Regions from separate parts of the Homo sapiens genome. Here region 1 is linked to region 2. The links are contacts of gene promoters, found by promoter capture Hi-C in human tissues and cell types (Jung and others, 2019). All regions are on one chromosome and are shown on one strand. Each heading gives the region's core, a stretch centred on a gene start or on the middle of the fragment in contact. The rest is flanking DNA. Distances are from core to core; before and after follow the strand shown.

Region 1 (6,556 bases), core at 2,885-5,384, 140 kb after region 2:
ACAAATTAAAGGAAACATTCCTATGATAAGTATACTTTTATATAGCACTTCTAAGAAAGTTGTATATTCAGGCTGGGCGCAGTGGCTCACGCCTGTTATCACAGCACTTTGAGAGGCCGAGGCGGACAGATCACCTGAGGTCAGGAGATCGAGACCAGCCTGACCAACATGGAGAAACCCTGTCTCTACTAAAAATACAAAAAAAAAATTAGCTGGGCATGGTGGCGCATGCCTGTAGTCCTAGCTACTCAGGAGGCTGAGGCAGGAGAATCCCTTGAACCTGGGAGGCAGAGGTTGTGGTGAACCAAGATTGTGCCATTGCACTCCAGCCTGGGCAACAAGAGCGAAACTCCATCTCAAAAAAAAAAAAAAAAAAAAAGGAAAGGTGTTTATTTATAGGAGATTTTATTTCGGAGAAAGATCAGATAAATACGTCTTCATTTGCTGCTCTGCTTGGGCTTTTCAGAATCTATTAATATTTTGATACATTTGATTGAGAGTCCACTTGAGGAAAATTTTACATGTTTGGGGGAGAGAGTATTTATGCTTTAACTCTGGACCTTGATAAAGTATTAAGACAATGATTTTATGAAATGTTATTACTTTGGAAGAGCTGGGTTTGATAGTAAGAATGTTCTTATCTGGAGGTGAGCGGCTATTCTGAGTATATGTAGATTTAGAGCACTACACTCAAAGTAGTGGTGCATATCTAGATTGACATGAAGCGTTGTGAAAACAGCATTTTTAAAAACAATAAAGTGCCTTGGATAATTCTCATTTGTTTTCATCAATTGGGAATTTCCCTAACCATTCTCAGAATGGTCCCATGTGTACTACTTTTCTCAAATCACAGAGCAGTATCTAGTGTTTGCAGGATGGGTGCAAAGCAGCATTCTTCTGAGTTTCCATTATGACCATTATGACATAGTTGCTTTAATGTTGTACTTTGCTTTAATGATGTGCTTTAATGTTGTAATGCTTTCCACACTACATACTCAGAAATTAGAATTTAGGAGATAGGATAAACCAAAAAACTACAAATTTGTTGCTTATCCTACTGAGATGCTACCATCCCCTCCAGTGGTTACACTGGTTTTCATTACTAGAAAATTCAGATTTTTATTTTTAATTTTAATATTTATTTATTTATTGTGAGACGGAGTCTCACTCCGTCACCCAGGCTGGAGTGCAGTGGTGCGATCTCTGCTCTCTGCAGCCTCCACCTCCTGGGCTCAAGCAGTTCTCCTGTCTCAGCCTCCAGAGTAGCTGGGATTACAGGTGCACACCACCATGCCTGGCTAATTTTTGTATTTTTAGTAGAGACGCAGTTTCACCATGTTGGCCAGGCTGGTTTTGAACTCCTGACCTCAAATGATCTGCCCGCCTCGACCTCCCAAAGTGCTGGGATTACAGGGGTTAGCCAGTGTGCCCGGCCAAAAATTGAGATCTTTAAAAGCTTTTTTTTCTTTTTTGAAATAGGGAACGCTTCATGAATTTGTGTCATCTTTGCACAGGGGCCATGCTAATCTTCTTTGTATCATTCCAATTTTAGTATATGTGCTGCTGTAGTAAGCACTTAATGGCATCTTAAAGCAATTTTTTGATGGTTCTTATGGAAAAATATGACTTTTATGAAAAATAGAGCGATTTCATCAGCATTATGTTATTACCAAAAGTAAATTAAAATGCACACAGAGAATGCGATACTTTTGATCTTCTCCATGTTTGAGTACAGAATAGTGGAAGAGTGAATGTGTGCCTATGGTTAATTTTGAGGGTTTGTTTTGAAATCTTGTTCCTTAATGTATCTTATTTTTGTTTACCTGCCAATGGATAGAAAATGCTTGTGACCACGTGAATTTTCACCCACTTGAATAGATTACTTTATAATTTCATCTATTACCCTGAAGACAGAATTCAATGTCATTCTTACCTTTATATTGTCTTCTCACTCAGGTTCCTCCCATTAAACCTTAACACATAGTTCAGTAAATAGAAGGTGAACGAATTAGTGAATGCATACCCCGTTTTTGCCATCCTACTAGCTTCATAAGAAGCCTAATATCACATGCATAGATTTGTTGAGTTCTGGGATAAATTTTTTCTTATTTGTTTTACCTTCTTATTTTTCAGTCACTGGAGGAGGATCCATGGCCAAGGGTGAATTCTAAGGACCATATACCTGCCCTGGTTCGTAGCAATGCCTTCTCAGAGAATTTTTTAGAGGTTTCAGCTGAGATAGCTCGAGAGAATGTCCAAGGTGTAGTCATACCCTCAAAAGATCCAGAACCACTTGAAGAAAATTGCGCTAAAGCCCTGACTTTAAGGATACATGATTCTTTGAATAATAGCCTTCCAATTGGCCTTGTGCCTACTAATTCAACAAACACTGTCATGGACCAAAAAAATTTGAAGATGTCAACTCCTGGCCAAATGAAAGCCCAAGAAATTGAAAGAACCCCTCCAACAAACTTTAAAAGGACATTAGAAGAGTCCAATTCTGGCCCCCTGATGAAGAAGCATAGACGAAATGGCTTAAGTCGAAGTAGTGGTGCTCAGCCTGCAAGTCTCCCCACAACCTCACAGCGAAAGAACTCTGTTAAACTCACCATGCGACGCAGACTTAGGGGCCAGAAGAAAATTGGAAATCCTTTACTTCATCAACACAGGAAAACTGTTTGTGTTTGCTGAAATGCATCTGGGAAATGAGGTTTTTCCAAACTTAGGATATAAGAGGGCTTTTTAAATTTGGTGCCGATGTTGAACTTTTTTTAAGGGGAGAAAATTAAAAGAAATATACAGTTTGACTTTTTGGAATTCAGCAGTTTTATCCTGGCCTTGTACTTGCTTGTATTGTAAATGTGGATTTTGTAGATGTTAGGGTATAAGTTGCTGTAAAATTTGTGTAAATTTGTATCCACACAAATTCAGTCTCTGAATACACAGTATTCAGAGTCTCTGATACACAGTAATTGTGACAATAGGGCTAAATGTTTAAAGAAATCAAAAGAATCTATTAGATTTTAGAAAAACATTTAAACTTTTTAAAATACTTATTAAAAAATTTGTATAAGCCACTTGTCTTGAAAACTGTGCAACTTTTTAAAGTAAATTATTAAGCAGACTGGAAAAGTGATGTATTTTCATAGTGACCTGTGTTTCACTTAATGTTTCTTAGAGCCAAGTGTCTTTTAAACATTATTTTTTATTTCTGATTTCATAATTCAGAACTAAATTTTTCATAGAAGTGTTGAGCCATGCTACAGTTAGTCTTGTCCCAATTAAAATACTATGCAGTATCTCTTACATCAGTAGCATTTTTCTAAAACCTTAGTCATCAGATATGCTTACTAAATCTTCAGCATAGAAGGAAGTGTGTTTGCCTAAAACAATCTAAAACAATTCCCTTCTTTTTCATCCCAGACCAATGGCATTATTAGGTCTTAAAGTAGTTACTCCCTTCTCGTGTTTGCTTAAAATATGTGAAGTTTTCCTTGCTATTTCAATAACAGATGGTGCTGCTAATTCCCAACATTTCTTAAATTATTTTATATCATACAGTTTTCATTGATTATATGGGTATATATTCATCTAATAAATCAGTGAACTGTTCCTCATGTTGCTGAATTTGTAGTTGTTGGTTTATTTTAATGGTATGTACAAGTTGAGTATCCCTTATCCAAAATGCTTGGGACCAGAAGTGTTTCAGATTTTTTAAAATTTTGGAATATTTGCTTTATACTGAGCTTTTGAGTGTTCCCAATCTGAAATTCAAAATGCTCTAATGAGCATTTCCTTTGAGCATCATGCCTGCTCTGAAAAAGTTTCTGATTCTGGAGCATTTTGGATTTTGGATTTTCAGATTAGGGATGCTTAACCTGGATTAACATTCTGTTGTGCCATGATCATGCTTTACAGTGAGTGTATTTTATTTATTTATTATTTTGTTTGTTTGTTTGAGATGGAGTCTCACTCTGTCATCCAGGCTAGAGTGCAGTGGCGTGATCTCGGCTGACTGCAACCTCTGCCTCCCGGGTTCAAGTGATTCTCCTGCCTCAATCTCTCTCCCCAGAAGCTGGGATTACAGGTGTGTGCCACCACACCCGGCTAATTTTTTTTTTTTTTTTTGAGATGGAGTCTAGCTCTGTCATCCAGGCTGGAGTGCAGTGGTGTGATCTCGGCTCCCTGCAACCTCTGCCTTCTGGGTTCCTGCGATTCTCCTGCCTCAGCCTCCTGAGTAGCTGAGATTACAGGCACGCGCCACTGTGCCCAGCCAATTTTTGTATTTTTAGTAGAGATGGGGTTTCACATGTCAGTCATGCTGGTCTTGATCTCCTGACCTCGTGATCCACCCGCCTCGACCTCCCAAAGTACTGGGATTACAGGCGTGAGCCACCGCATCCGGCCTGAGTTTTATGCTTTCAATGTATTTCTTACATTTCAGTTCAAGTGATTTTCATGTCTCAGCCTCCTGAGTAGCTGGAACTACAGGTGCGTGCCACCATGCCTGGCTAAGTTTTGTATTTTTAGTAGAGATGGGTTTTCATCATGTTGGCCAAGATGGTCTTGATCTCTTGACCTCATGATCCACCAGCCTAGGCCTCCCAAAGTGCTGGGATTACAGGTGTGAGCCACCGTGCCCAGCCAACTATGCCATTATTTAACCATGTCCACACATTCTGGTTATTTTCAATATTTTGCAGAAGATAATTCTTGATCGGTGTGTCTTATGCCACAAGGATTAAAATATGTATTCATTGCTACAAAACAATATCTCGAAATTTAGCAGTTTAAAACAACAAATATTATCTCCAGTTTCTGAGCCTCAGAAATCTGAGAGTGGTTTAGCTGGGTGATAGTCTCGTGGTTTTGGTCAAGCTACCAACCAGGGCTACAATCTTTCGAAGGTGTCATTGGGGCTAGAAGATCTGCTTCCCGCAAGACTCACAGCTGTTGGCAGGAGACCTCAGTTTGTTGCCACATGTTCCCCTCCAGAGGGCCTCTCACAACATGGCAGTTATTTGTCCCCAGAGCAAGCAACACCGGAGGGCAAGGAAGAAGCCATGATGTTTTTTGTAACCTAGCCTCTGAAAGTGTCATACCAATTCTGTATTTTGTTGGTCACACAGACCAAGTCAACTACAACGTGGGAGACTCCTACACAAGGCATGAATTCTAGGAGGTGGGCATTTTTAAGTGTCATCTGGAAGGAGGCTGTCACAACCTGGAAGTTAAAAGCATTGATATTCTGAAATACAGCGTGTATAACATTGTTTTAGTAGGGTGTGCAATAGTTATGTTTTGGTAATAGCATTAATGAACAATGTTATTTTCATCTTCCAGACATCTGGAAGATTGCTCTAGTGGAGTAAAACATCTTAATGTATTTTGTCCCTAAATAAACTATCTCACTAACAAAGTTGAGAATAATTTTTTTTTTTTTTAACAGGGTCTCACTGTCCCCAGGCTGATGTGGAGTGCAGTGGCAAAATCATAGGTCACTGTAACCTTTAACTCCTGGGTTCAAGTGATCCTCCCATCTCAGCTTCCTGAGTAGCTGGGACTACAGGTGCATATCACCACACCTGGTGGATTTTAAAAATTTCCTTAGAGACAAGGTCTCACTGTGTTGCTCAGGCTGGTCTTAAATTCCTGGCCTCAAGTGATCCTCCTGCCTCGGCCTCCCAAAGTGCTAGGCAAATTTTAATCTTAGAGACAAAATATTTAGGCAGTATTAGTGGTTGCATTAGGGATTACAATGTACATACACTTATAGACTACTTAGAATCAATGTTCTATGACTAAAAGTGGAATGTAGGAACGTTACTAGCCAGGTGTGGTGGCATGTGCCTGTAGTCCCAGCTACTCTGGAGTCTGAGGTAGGAGGATCACTTGGGCCCAGGGGGTTGAGGCTTCAGTGAGCCGTGATCACACCACTGCACACCAGCCTGGGCAACAGAGTGAGACACTGCCTCAAAAATAAATAATAAAAGTAACAAAAGTTTTAGCAAAAGGAAAAAAAGTTAAAAGAAAGCAAGCTGGGTATGGTGGTGCATTCCTGTAGTCCTAGCTACTCAGGAAGCTGCGGTGGGAGGATTGCTTGAGCCCAAGAGTTCCAGGCTATAGTGTGCGATGATCACACCTGTGAATAGCTATTGGACTCCAGCCTGGACAGCATAGTTAGGCCCTGTCTCTTACACAAAACACAAAATAACAAAATGAAAACAGGTCGGGTGCGGTGGCTCATGCCTGTAATCCCAGCTCTTTGGGAGGCTGAGGTGGGGGGATCACCTGAGGTCAGGAGTTTGAGACCAGCCTGGCCAACATGGTGAAACCCCATCTCTACTAAACATACAAAAATTAGCTGGGCGCGGTGGCACACACCTGTAATCCCAGCTACTTGGGAGGCTAAGGCAGGAGAATTGCTTGAACCTGGGAGGCAGAGGTTGCAGTGAGCTGAGAATGTACCACTGCACTCCAGCCTAGGTGACAAAGTGAGACTTCGTTGCAAAAACAAAAACAAAAAAACAAAAACAAATGGAAACAGAGAAGAATG
Region 2 (6,331 bases), core at 2,099-4,598:
CATATTTTACCCTTTCTATGCTCTCCCTTCCCTGCTTATACAGCAGTCAACATTCCTGCTTCTTTACCTTCCATTCATTCCATAACCCCATCTCCTAATGCTTTACGATTGTGCCTTTATCTGAAGCTATTACAAAAATTAACACAGTCATACTGTAGTACACCAAACAAGCAGAATGGGGAAATTTGATTCCACAAATACTCCAATTTTGTCTATGACTATGCCTACTGATGGAAATTTGGACTGCAAGAGAGATGTAATTATGAGTTTCTCCTTGGCTTTAAAGTGCAGAAAATTGGAAATTGGAAACAGTAAGCCTCCTAAAATTTTCACAAGTTGGGCAGGGGGTGAGTATCTTATATTTATGTGTGCAGTTATATTGCTTTAAAAAGTTTTTCCAGCCTGGGCAATATATCAAGACCTCATCTATACTAAAAATTAAAAAAAAAAAAATTAGCTAGGCATGGGTGGCATACACCTGTAGTTCCAGCTACTCAGGAGGCTGAGATGGAAAGACTGCTTAAGCCCAGGGGTTCAAGGTTGCGGTGAGCTATGATCACAACTGCACTCCAGCCTGGGCAACAGAGCAAGATCCTGTCTCCACAAAAAAAGTTTCTTATATGTATATGCTAATAGTGTTTAAAAGGAAGAAAAGTCAGGTGCGGTGGCATATGCCTGTAGTCTCAGCTACTCAGTAGGCTGAGGCAGGAGGATAGCTTGAGCCCAGGAGTTCAAGACCAGCTTGGGCAAAACAGCGAGACCCCATCTCTATTTTTTTTAAATTTTAATAAAAAGAATAATTTCTTCTTACATCTCCATTAAAGATTAGAATAGAGTCCTGGGACTGACTTTCACTCCACTTCCATAGAAGCTAATAAAAAAATTAGTGTTATAATATCTTTCATTAAAATAATCTACTATCTTAAGATAGATATCTAAGTAAAAGAGCAAGGAACTCAGGAACTAAATATCAGGTTTGAGACCTTAATTAAATTACTTAACTTTCTCACCAATAAAGCAAGGTTATACTGTACTCTACTTCACAGTTTAATTCTGAAGATTAAACAAAATAACACATAAAAGCACAACATAGTTACAGGCACATGTTTAACACTTCCCTCATCTTAGCACAGTGCCATACTCCCAATAAGCATACAACTATTAAGAAGTAAAAGTGTACCAAAAAGGAGCAATATTAAAACTGTGTGAACTATGTGAAACAGAAATTCTAACAAAAGCACCATCTATTCATACTAATAATCTTCAAATGAAAAGCTTCAATTAGAAGTGAAAGTTACTAAAAGATATTCAAGTATTTTGAACGAATTCAACTAGTAAATACACTTGGATTACATTCCCAATGATTTCCTCTGAGAGATTACATATGAGGTACAAGATTACACATGATTTAATAAAATGGACAGAGAGCACACACAAAGCTGCAGTTTCCCAGGCTGAGAAAGACAAATCTAATTTGTCCTTCCTGGGGAGGAATGTATCTTAAATGAACAAAATTTCCTTAGAATACACAAAAGTAAATCAATGTATCAAAGGGATTAGGAAAAAAGGGAGCTTTTTCTCGAAATCCAAAATAATAATACGCATGACCTAAATGAATCTTCTCCAAATATTTAGGGGGGAAACCCCACTTTAATTGTTAGAATTGGTGCAAAGCAGCTGGATTTAGTAGAACGCAGCCCATCAACTGCTAATTCTGAAAAAAAAAAAAAAAAAAAAAAAAAAATCTAGGGGTGGAGAAAGCAGGCAATCTTCCCAATAAAACAACTGCCACAAAACACTGTACATACGTAAGAACATAAACATCTGTTAAAATATCAGTTTACACTGTTCCAGCCAACTTACAGATCAAGAGGAAGTATTTAAGGTCTAAAAAATAAATTACATTCTACTTTTAGTCACATTTTGCATGGGTGGCTACTGGACACTAGGAGTTATCGACGCGGATTCAAGACAAGGAAGACTGAATAATAAATCCAGTGTTCACATTCAAATGTGGGGGAGAGAAAAGGGCAGGCTCTGAGTCCATAAAGTTCTCCACACTCTGAAAACACTGCAAAAATAGTCCACATCTAAGGACACTTACCCTTGAAACTCCTTGGAGAGTGGCTTGGGAGACTTGCTGTTCAGATTTTTGAGGGGGAGTGATTTAAGAATGCTGCAAGATTGCAACTTTCAAACACAGGAACATAATCTAAAGTGTTTTTTTCTTTCAGTAAAGATCTCTCCCTGTCCTCTTCAAACAGTTGATCAGCACTCCCATTTTCACAAAATCCCTAATTCAAGTATAGAGCCCCTCCTCTCCCACAAAAAAATCAAAGCTTTAAAGAATATGCAAATAAAACACACAGATTATTTCCAATAATCCCTAACTCCTTCCCAATTGGGAAAAGAAAGGAGAAACGAAGGAACACGAAGCAAAAACACCAAAACACTCGGGGAAGGAAGGCGGCGAGATGAGAAAGTAGGAATGGGTGGGGGGAGGAGCACGGAAAAAAGTCCAGCTGATGCTGACACTTAATTGGAAGGAGAGGATGGAAAATATCCTGAAGATACGGGCTAGAAGGAAAGGACTAGGTGGGACAGGGGCGCGATAGAGTAAGTCCACGCAAAAGGCCTACCCAAGAGGGCCACTGTGTAGAAGGGAACACCAACAGGGAGCAAGACTCCCCAAGATTACTTCAAGGCCCCAAAGCTTAAGAGACAGGGCATAGGGAGATGGGGTGCTTCTCCACTGGCAATGCAGACACCGCACCAGACGTTTCGGGAGGCAAGTCTGCCGGAAGGGGTGAGGGGTTAACTGCGGGGGTTCGCAGACGTGGAAGGGGGTGCGGCCCCCGGGGTTGCTGGAGGAGAGCAGAGAGGAGGCCCACGGCGCATACCTTGTAGTAAACATCAAACTGGATGTTCTCGGGCAAGGAGCGGATGTCTCGGCGGGAGCGGATGTAGTTGTCCACGACAGCGGAGATGGCGGTGTTATAGAGAGTCTCTGGGATCCACTCTAGTTCCACGGCCGCCATCTTCCTTCCCTCCTCCTCCGCCTCCTCCGCCTCCTCCTCCCGAAGGCCCCCACCTCCCTCCGTAGCGAACCCCTCTGCGGCCCCGGAGGATTCGGAGGGGCGGTGGCAGCCACGCGGGCGCACGGCAGAAGGCACGGCCGCCCTGCCTCCTCCGGGGGCAAACTGAGGGACGGCGGCAGCGGACGCAGGCCCGAGTAAAAAGTGGGACAGAAAACAGCGGCCAGCCAGGCCAAAAGCGTCACAATCCCGGTTCGAGAGGAACCCGGGTTCCGTCCCAGCGCTGATCTCTGCAGGGGCGGGGCTGCGTGTGCGGCGTCATGACGTAAGCGCACGCCGGCGCGCCGGAGGGGAGGAATGCGGCAGGCGGAAAACTTAGGAAGAGCTGGATGCCTCCCACGGAGAGCGTCCCTTCCAAGCGGCCCCGGAGTGGAGTGGAGTGGAGTGGATAGGGGTAGACTTTTCACACGGGGACAAATTATTACAGGATATCTGCGCCCCCTGTTCCGAGTCACTCGGGGCCATCGGTTACTTCAGCAGGTTCTCTGCATCACGGACCCTTTTGAGGCTCAGGTAAAAGTTTGGATCCTCTCCCCACAAACGAGCAAAATTATCTGTACATTGAAAATTATGCATTGAGAAAATTCACATTACTCTAGAAACCCTTAGACTGCAGTTCCTAACCCAAGTTAAGAACCCGCGGTCCAGGAACTAGGGGTAACGATAGAAGAGAGACTTGTTTTTCTTTGTATAACCATTTGCACCGTTGTAACTTTTTGACCATGTTTCTTTATCCAAATGAAATTTCCGAAAAAAGAAAACTCCTGCCCCAGAACTTCGTAGGAAAACTAGCTTGATTATGGAATTACAAATAATAGTAAGAGAAAAAAGGCTAAGTGGTGGCCGTGATAGGACTTAATGGTATTTCAATTCCCAGAGTTACAGTGGCGGCTTCAAGGGATTGTTGAATAATTGGGAGTACTTGTTTCAGCTTCTTTCCTTCCTCAGCCTGAACATCTGCTGTTTATGTAACTTAATTTCCTAAGTCTGCGATTTCAAGAATTTGATGCAACATCTTTCTGTTCTAGGAATTTACCATGGAAATTATTGGCCATAATTGTTGGTGACACTATCAAACTCATAGTCACTCTATAACGATGTAAGTCCAGAAAACAGCCATAATAATAATGTCCTGATTGATATTTAGAGCTAAAAGAAGTGGAAAGAGTTATTTCAATTTACCCTTCACCTGGTACTTCAGTGTTAAGTGGTTAAATAATTCCACAAAAAATAAACACTCTTAATCTTCTTCAGTCTATATAAATTCTTACTCTATACTGTGAACCTAGGAAAGCTGTGGATGGCCTCAAGATCAGATTGCCAGTTTAGCAAGTAAAAAACTACAAGGCTGGGCGCGGTGGCTCACACCTGTAATCTCAGCACTTGGGAGGCCGAGGCGGGTGGATCACGAGGTCAGGAGATCGAGACCATCCTGGCTAACACGGTGAAACCCCGTCTTTACTAAAAATACAAAAAATTAGCCCGTGGTGGCGGGCGCCTGTAGTCCCAGCTACTCGGGAGGCTGAGGCAGGAGAATGGCGTGAACCCGGGAGGCGGAGCTTGCAGTGAGCCAGGATCGCGCCACTGCACTCCAGCCTGGGCAACAGAGCGAGACTCCGTCTCAAAAAAAAGAAAAAAAAAATTACAAGTGCCCAGTCACATCTTAATGTCAGATAAACAACAAATGGTTTTGAAATGTAAGTATGTTCTGTGCAATAGTTTTGCTCATGCCTTCGGAGCCACTCAAGTGTATCAGTTCATTCAGCAAATCCTTCATCACTTCTTAGACACTGGCGCTTTTGAAGATCAGGATCCCTGCCCCACATAAAAGAATAATTATTATCTCTGCAAATATTGCAGGGGACATATTTATACTAAAAACTTATTTGTGACCAGCCTGGGCAACATAGCAAGACCCCATCTCTACAAAAAAAAAATAGCCACATGTGGTGGTGTGCACCTGTAGTCCTAGCTACTCAGGAGGCTGAGGCAGGAGGATTACTTGAGCCCAGAATGTTGAGTGAGCCATGATCATGCCACTGCACTCCAGCCTGGGTGGCAGAATGAGACCCTGTCTCAGAAAACAACAACAACAAAAAACTTTGTTGTTCATCTGAAACTCACATTTAACTGGACACCTGTATTTTATCCAGCAATCCTACCTAAAGGGATCCATGAATCCCCTAACATTGAATGCACATGTTCTTGGACATTTTGGCTAAATCAGGACCCGTATTAAGCTCCTGTAAACAGGTAAAGGTGTGTCAGACACACATATTGATTGCTTTATGGACCTTAGATGCTGAGTGTATTAGTCCGTTTACACACTGCTAATAAAGACATAGCTGAGACTGGGCAATTTATAAAAGAAAGAGGTTTATTGGGTTTACAGTTCCACATGGCTGAGGAGGCCTCACAATCATGGTGGAAGGCAAGGAGGAGCAAGTCACATCTTAATGTGGATGGCAGCAGGCAAAAAGAGACAACCGAAAGGAGTTTCTCCTTATAAAACCATCAGATCTCATGAGACTACCACAAGAACAGCGTGGGAGAAACCACCCCCATGATTCAGTGATCTCCCACTGGGTCCCTCCCACAACACGTGGGAATTATCAGAGTACAATTCAAGATGAGATTTGGGTGGGGACACAGAGCAAAACCATATGACTGAGTTAGACATTAAAAAATGTATATAGTCACAAAGGGGACTCTGGATGGAAGGGCCTCTTGATCCCTTCTTCACTGCTTTCAGATTGAAAGTTATTCAGATGTGTATGATGGACTAGGAGGTCGTGACCAAGAGCAGATAAACTGCCAGAAAGGATAAGTCCCCTGAGAAGGACTTAGTCCTGGCAGTATTCATCACCTTCTAACTGAAGAGCCCTTGGGCCCTAAATGACCAGCAGATATACCCAGATACTATGTTGAGGACCTTGGGTGAACCTCTGAGACTTGCTGGCTTCAGATGCCAGCATGGCCACAGAGGGGTAGAGCACCAAGTGGGCCCTTGGGGTTCCTGATTCCAGGACTTGACTCCTAAATGGCATTTCTGACCTGCCCTGGTCCAGAGTAGAGCCTTCTGCCCTGACGGTTGAGTCTCTGCCCAGACAGCATTCACCACACACTGACTTGAGAGGCCGTGGGCCTTAAGGAAACATCCGTGGAAGTCTGGCAGTACTCCCTGTGGCCTGTGGTGATGGTGGTTACAGAGTGAGGCTAGTCTCCCTTTGGGAAGG

Evidence for each region. Contacts are between HindIII fragments. The study calls those that stand out against the background at their distance.
Region 1: a fragment that was not itself captured here is called in contact with the fragment with the promoter of APPBP2 in region 2 in 1 of the 25 tissues and cell types used here (hippocampus).

What each region holds. Positions count from the first base shown.
Region 1 is chr17:60,660,862-60,667,417 of GRCh38, forward strand. PPM1D (protein phosphatase, Mg2+/Mn2+ dependent 1D) reads left to right here. Exons shown (of 6, transcript NM_003620.4): 6 at 2,134-5,419. The coding sequence ends at 2,691. It also overlaps the pseudogene RNU6-623P. Among named protein-coding and RNA genes, the nearest start is that of BCAS3, 14 kb to the right of the region's middle. The HindIII fragment of the contact is 6,894 bases long and covers 688-6,556 here.
Region 2 is chr17:60,522,894-60,529,224 of GRCh38, forward strand. It overlaps APPBP2 (amyloid beta precursor protein binding protein 2), which reads right to left and starts at 3,349. Exons shown (of 13, transcript NM_006380.5): 1 at 2,901-3,349. The coding sequence starts at 3,038. RefSeq lists enhancers at 2,260-2,968, 2,689-2,958 and a silencer at 3,039-3,178. The HindIII fragment of the contact is 9,879 bases long and covers 2,527-6,331 here.